Linked DNA regions of Homo sapiens: region 2 is linked to region 1. The links are contacts of gene promoters, found by promoter capture Hi-C in blood cells and fetal thymus (Javierre and others, 2016). All regions are on one chromosome and are shown on one strand. The core of a region is centred on a gene start or on the middle of the fragment in contact, and the rest is flanking DNA. Distances in the headings are between cores, read along the strand shown. Region 1 holds the start of NPPC (natriuretic peptide C). Region 2 overlaps DIS3L2 (DIS3 like 3'-5' exoribonuclease 2).

Region 1 (3,509 bases), core at 1-2,500:
TTTGTTCTCTCTCCAGCCTGCGTCCTGCTCAGCAGCAGCCAGTCATAGATTCCTGCTCTTCAATCAATTCGGGGGATCTGGGCTCTCCGCCTCTGCGGCCCACACCGCAGTGCCCAAATGCCCACCACACTCCTTAGTGTCCAAGGGACCGAGAAGCCCAGTGCAAGGAGAGCAAGTTCGTGAGTGGTAGGGATATGTGGCCATGTCCCGAGAGCCACGGGGACCTCTCTACAGTCAAAAACGGGAAGTTGACCACCTGTCACGGCTGGCAGAGGCTGGACTGGGCCGCTGGCTAGGAAGCTCTCTCCCCAGCCTGTGAAAGTGCACAGGATACTGGAGCGGGCTTCCCCCAGCAGCGGATCCTCGCGTGGGTGCAGGCAAGGTCAGGTGCGCATTGTTCCCACAGAGGGAGTTCACCAGCGGAGTCAGACCCCGGGACGTTCTGTGTGGCCGAAACCGGCTGAACGTGAACCTAGAGCAGTAACTGGCGAGCATACGATGCCGCGGAGCACACGCATGAGCATGAATATCTTGGTTCCGCGCTCGCAGTCCCCTCGTTCCCGCCTTGCGCTCAAACACTCAGGCTGGCGACACCCCTGCACTCTCCAGTGTGGAAGACTTGCGCTCCCCCCTGCGGCCCAGGCGAACCCCGCTCTCCCTGCGCCTCCCACCCCAGTCCTCCAACCCCATCCTCTGCCTCCCCAACCTAACGACGTCGCTGTGGTCTGCGCTCCCGCCCTGACCGGCAGGTGAAAGGCGGAGCTGCAATGCCATCCCGCGGCTGTCAGGTGCCCAGGGAAGAGTTTGGCGACAAGCAGGGCTGCGTGGATTTCGGGCAGCGCCAACTTTATGCCTGTATGACTTTGGGCAAGTGACTTCATTCCTCTGAGCCTGTCTTTGCACCTGCAAAGAGGGCTACGTATCCCTTCCAGGTAGAGTGAGTGCGATGAGGACCTAGTGGGTGCACAGGGCACCAGGCGCACCGATGCTCGGCAGGCCAGGGCGCGCGCTCGCTGCAAATGGAGTTCCCCTGTGCGCTCAGCTCTGCAGCTCCAAGTGCAGCCTGGAGCGAGCCCGCCGAGCCGCGGGATCCCTCCGGGGTGGGATAAGGGAGGGGAGCCCCCGCGGCCCCCTCCCGGCCCTCGGCGCGGCCGCGTGCGTGGTGTCATTGGCCCGGGCGGCCCGGTGGGCGGGAGGATGACATCAGCGGCAGGTTGGATTATAAAGGCGCGAGCAGAGTCACGGGCTCAGAGCGCACCCAGCCGGCGCCGCGCAGCACTGGGACCCTGCTCGCCCTGCAGCCCAGCCAGCCTGCTCCGCATCCCCCTGCTGGTCTGCCCGCCGACCTGCGCGCCCTCGCTGCCGCCCGTGTGCGCCCCTCGACCCCAGCGGCACCATGCATCTCTCCCAGCTGCTGGCCTGCGCCCTGCTGCTCACGCTGCTCTCCCTCCGGCCCTCCGAAGCCAAGCCCGGGGCGCCGCCGAAGGTGGGTGCTGTCGTGGGGACGCCGAGCCTGGGAGAGGCGTGGGAGGCTGGGGGCTTGGAGAATGCGGCGCGCAGGACCCAGGAGAGAGGGAAGGCAGGCGGCTGTCTCCTCCGAGATGCGCGTGGGCGAGAGCCGGGGAGCCCTCGAAGCGCGGATTCGGGGGTCCACTTCTCCAGCCTCCGGAGAACATCGGCCCATGCGCAGCCCCCTACCCCAGTGTGGCCTGCCCGGCGAGCAGCAAAGGGAGGGCAGGGGGCTTCCGGAGGGAGCGGCGAAGGCGGCCGCGTGGCAGGTGGATGCGGGGCCAAGCTGGCCGGCATCGGTGGGGGCGGCTCTGGGCTTGGGAGGGACACCCCGCGCCGGCGGGCGCGTGGGGCTGGAGCATCAGAGTCCCCCGTGCTGCAGCCGCGTGTCCCTTCACCTGCCCGCTCTTTCCTCGGACAGGTCCCGCGAACCCCGCCGGCAGAGGAGCTGGCCGAGCCGCAGGCTGCGGGCGGCGGTCAGAAGAAGGGCGACAAGGCTCCCGGGGGCGGGGGCGCCAATCTCAAGGGCGACCGGTCGCGACTGCTCCGGGACCTGCGCGTGGACACCAAGTCGCGGGCAGCGTGGGCTCGCCTTCTGCAAGAGCACCCCAACGCGCGCAAATACAAAGGAGCCAACAAGAAGGGCTTGTCCAAGGGCTGCTTCGGCCTCAAGCTGGACCGAATCGGCTCCATGAGCGGCCTGGGATGTTAGTGCGGCGCCCCCTGGCGGCGGTGAGTACGGCCCACCCGACGCCCAGCCCCAGCCCGGCCCGGGACCGCCCGCCGCCCAGCCGGCCTTCGGAGGCGCGCGAGCCGCCTTTGCTCAAGTTGTGCTAGGCGTTTGCCAGCCGCCCCCTTTATTATCCCACTTTACAGACAAAGAAAGCGAAGGATAACGTGATCGGGGAACTTTGGCAAGGTCAGAAACGGCTCAGCCTGGTTGAACCCACCTGGCTTCTTCTGGAGAAGCAGAAACAGGCTTGGTGGTGTCTCACCCACCCCTGAACCGTAGCTGAACTAGCAGCACTGGCCCCTATTGGCCAGCTGGTGGGGGGATTGAGAGGAGATCATGGGTTTGTGGGAGCAGAGAAGGAAGGTTACACCCACAAGTCCAGGGGACATCGATCATCTGCTGGCCACCATGCCCCCTGTAGTGAGAGTAGCCCTCTGCTGGCACTGTCAGAGCGCCCTTCTGCCTGGGACACTCCGATTCCTGTCCCTTCTCTAAACCCAGGCAGTGGGCAAACTGGTCTGTCCAGGGTCCTGAGGCAGCTGCAGCCTGGTGGCTTCGGGGGTGAATCTCAGTGCTTGTGGCACTATTTCAGGGAATAGGAAAGACACTAAAGTAAATATTATTTGCCCCAGCCTCGAACTCAACACGTCCCAGAGTCCCTCACCAACCCTGTCCCGACCCAACCGGTGCTCTGGGCTCCGTTTCTGGTGTGGGGTCTCACCCCGCACTAGGGCTGGAAACCTCTGCCCTACCGCCACCCCCTGCCGGGTGCCGCGTGGTGGTAATTTACTGCTGCAGAGAGCCTCACCTCTCCTCTTTCCCTCCTCTCTATTCCTGCCGCCTGCCCGTGCCCACTGAATAACATCCCAGCCTCTGACATTGACAGTCATGTGCGTTAGGATCAGGCTTACCTGGCTTTCTCGCTTTCTTGCCTCCAGCTCAGCAGCTGCCACTGCCTGTCCCACACCTTGACTGTCCCATCCCAGGCTACGGGCAAGCTGCTGTCTCCTCCCCAGAAACCCTTGTCAGTGTCGGATCTTCTCCCGGAGGGAAACAAGAGCGCCTGTCCAGCACACTGTCTCTTTTTTACAGTACAGAACACTTTTTCACAGTTTGTGAACCCATTCACCTCTCCATATTGAACAGCTTAAGGGCGAAGTGCTGGCCTAAGGCACTCTAGGACCCACTGCACCCCGAACAGACTCGTGGAAATATTTGTCAATGACCAGAGAAACCAGCACACCCTGGCCCATGGCCACTCCCACCT
Region 2 (3,509 bases), core at 737-3,236, 280 kb before region 1:
ATGTGAGACTGAGAAGAGACAAATGGGTGAGTGACTTTCTCTTCCTCTGTGTGAACTGGCACCTACTTCTCCTTCACCCCAAGCCAGAAGAGATGTGAGTGGGTGAAAATCAGGCTGCTTCCATGAACGAGGCTTCTCAAGAAGAGTTGGCCAACAAGAGGGGCAAGTTACTTTGGTAAATTACTCTTCAATTTACACTTTGGTAAAATATCCTTCTCCAGTGACTTGTGATACAGGGGGATGGGACCCAACAATAAGCTTCGCAAAAAAACTTTGGGCCGTAGAGTTAACCATAATAGAAGTCTACCTGGAAACAGCACAAATCACAGTTTGTTTCCACAGAATAATTATATATTTCAACCAAGCTCATACCAAGTACACCATGTGCCCATTTATCTTTGCACAATATCCTTACGAACATCACACTCTTACCCTGTGAAACTCCCAGACATTCTCATTCTGTTTTACAGTTTCCCATATAGCATGCCTGACTCAATCCACCCATTCCCACCATGTAAACACCTAAAGATCTTGGCAGCAGCTGTCCTTGGCTCTCCATACCTCCAGCCTTTCCTGCCCGAGGACTGCCTGGAGATTGGGGTATTCTGCAGCAACTGCCCTTCTGCCCCCATGCCACACTCTAGTCGGTGCTCACTGCTTCCTAGGTTCTTCCTCCACTCCATCCAGTACTAGCAGTGCACTGCCACCATTTCTCTGTCTTTTCCTCATTCATCAACACTGATGATGTTGCCCATACTTGTACTAACCATGGTAAGACAGGCTTTGTTCTTAAAGACTTCTTCCCTGGTGTTGCTCCTCTGTTCAAAACCTCCTTGGCAGCAGTGAGCTATAATTGGGCCACTGCACTCCAGCCTGGACAATAGAGCGAGACCCTGTCTTCAGAGGCTGCCAAGCTGCTCTAATGCTGGCCTGCCACAAGCTCTTGGGACCTTTCTCTATCCGACTCTTAACTGTCCACTTACCCTACTCCTAGTAACTCCCAACAGCCCTCTCTAATCCTAACCACAATACTTCCATCCTAAGAGAGTATTAATTATAAGATGCGCCATCAATTCTGTAATAGCTTTTGGAGAAATAAAAACCCCACCACATTAAATATATACATTAATTTTAAGATACTTCAGAATTTCAGAAATGTCAAATGTTTAAAAAATAATAATAACCTTTTTTTTTGTATGGCTCACTGCAGCCTCAACCTCTTGAGCTCAAATAATCCTCCCACCTCAGACTCCCAAGCAGCTGACAGTATAGGTGCATGCCACCACACTGGAGTAGTTTTAAAACTTTTTGTAGAAACAGGATCTCACTCTGTTCCCCAGGCTGATCTCAAACTCCTGGCTTCAAGGGATCCTCTCAACTTGGCCTCCCAAAGTGCTGGGATTACAGGTGTGAGCTACGATGCCCAACCCAAAAAGTAATCTTAAATGGTAAATGGATAACCAGACTGTGGTATACCCCCAAAATGGAACAGTATTTAGCAACAAAAATTAACAAATTATTCATAAATGCAACAGCCTGGATGAATCTCAAAGGTATTGAACTAAGTGAAAAGAGCCACTCTCAAAAAGAAAACAAAGCACTTTGGGAGGCCAAGGTGGGCAGATCACCTGAGGTCGGGAGTTCAAAACCAGACTGGCCAACATGGTGAAACCCCGTTTCTACTAAAAATACAAAAATTAGCCGGGCATGGTGGCACACGCCTGTAGTCCCAGCTACTCAGGAGACTGAGACAGGAAAATTGTTTGAACCCGGGAGGTGGCGGTTGCAGCGAGCCAAGATTGTGCCACTGCATTCCAGCCTGGGCAACAGAGCAAGACTTGGTCTCAAACACAAAAACAAAAAAGGGTGGGGGGAGGAGAGGGGATAAGAAGAGGAGAGGAGAAGAAGAGGAGAGGAACGGAACGGAATGAAAACAGAGATAAGACAGAGAGCAGATCAGTGGTTGCCAGAACTGGGAAAGGTACGCTTGTGCGGGGGCAGCAGGGGGAGTGGAACTAAATCTATGCATGTCTTAAAATTCACAGAATTTTACATACAGCAAAAGAAGGTCAATTTTAATGTTTACTATTTTTTTAAAAAATTCATGTGACTTTCAAATCAAGAAGAGTAAAACATATATGTTAAATATTCATAGGGTTGATCGACGGGTGCTAGATTTATGGATTAATTTTTTTCCCTTTAATGTGTACTTTTTCATATTTTTAAAATTTTTCACTGCAATTGAATATTACTTTTGTAAATGGAAAAAATCAAAACTATAGAGAATCTTCCTTAATCAAAAAACAATTGATCAGATATGTATTATTGTTTGTTTGTAAATATATTGTTTGTACATATATTTAGCTATCTTGTAACATTTGTTACAAGATGCATTTGGCTTAATATAGTTAATGGCTTTAAGATTATGGATCTGGTAAAAACTGTGTCCCTACTGGACACTAAGAAAATAGGGCAGGGAAAGGTAGGTGCCATTCAGGTGGAGGGAACGAGAGCATTTAGAGTGCAGATCCCAGAAAGGGTGATTAATCAGGAGACCCACTCTCCCTCTAAATATTTCGAGGAGAGTCACACACAGTGTAGGCAACATGAAGGTTGAAGCCTCAAGATATACAGAAGTAATTTTGGTTCCACTATATAAAAGAGGTTGTAAGCAAGAGTGCCAGAGGAGAAGAGAAACACTGATCTCCTGGAATGCGTGCTCCGAGGGCTGTGTTCCCAGAGCCTTGAACAGAGGCTGCACCTCAGACATGTTTGTTGAATGAACAGATTGATGGTAATAGGAAGTGCCCAGGAGGTGAAATCAGACCTGGCACCACAGCAATGGGCTGTAATTGATGAGGATCTTGAACTTGGCTCACAAGGTAAAGAAGGAAGTGTCCACTTCTTTCTCCTTTTGATATCTCCCATAAAATCTAACCAAATGTTTTATATACACTGAGTACTCAATAAAAAATACTGGTATAACTGAAACTAAAAAGTCAGACATGGTAGTAGGAATGTTTGGGTCTTCTTCTTTTATCATAATGACATCATAAAAAGCCAAAAAAATGTTCCCCTAGTCAAAATCAAAAAGAACTCCATTAGCTTGGTTGGAGGTGGGAAGCCATCGTTTACTAGGTTACTTGGAGGGTTGACTAGGAAGTTTTAATTTCTTAAAATTAAACGTCTCTGGGTGCTTTGAGACTTTCATTTCTATGGATCCAGTGCATGAATGATAATTCCCATTTAGACATTTCCAGCCTGAAGTTGATCCCACCATATGTGACCGTGTAAGACTTTGTTAGTTTGTAAATGTCTTCTTTGGGAGCCCCCACAACTGCTTTCTAAGAAAAATCCTAGACTAGCCTGTAAGGACTCAAACCAACTCTCTATTACCTTTAACACTTTTTAAAAATCTGCTCTTAAACCAGAAACATAAAAGTCTAAATTAAAATGGAACCTGACAAACAGTACTCAGGAAGGCTTGCTTGCTGGAAAGATAAGCCATC

Evidence for each region. The method cuts DNA at HindIII sites, captures the fragments that hold promoters and counts their contacts. A CHiCAGO score of 5 or more calls a contact.
Region 2: a fragment that was not itself captured here is called in contact with the fragment with the promoter of NPPC in region 1 in 6 of 17 cell types (M1 macrophages, erythroblasts, naive CD8 T cells and 3 more); the score reaches 7.1 in M1 macrophages.

The regions. Positions count from the first base shown.
Region 1 is chr2:231,924,137-231,927,645 of GRCh38, reverse strand. It overlaps NPPC (natriuretic peptide C), which reads left to right and starts at 1,250. Exons shown (of 3, transcript NM_024409.4): 1 at 1,250-1,486; 2 at 1,931-2,241. The coding sequence starts at 1,397. The coding sequence ends at 2,221. RefSeq lists an enhancer at 1-560 and silencers at 962-1,181, 2,137-2,186, 2,267-2,356. The HindIII fragment of the contact is 15,333 bases long and covers 1-3,509 here.
Region 2 is chr2:232,206,666-232,210,174 of GRCh38, reverse strand. All of the region lies in intron 9 of DIS3L2 (DIS3 like 3'-5' exoribonuclease 2), which reads right to left. Among named protein-coding and RNA genes, the nearest start is that of MIR562, 36 kb to the right of the region's middle. The HindIII fragment of the contact is 3,452 bases long and covers 261-3,509 here.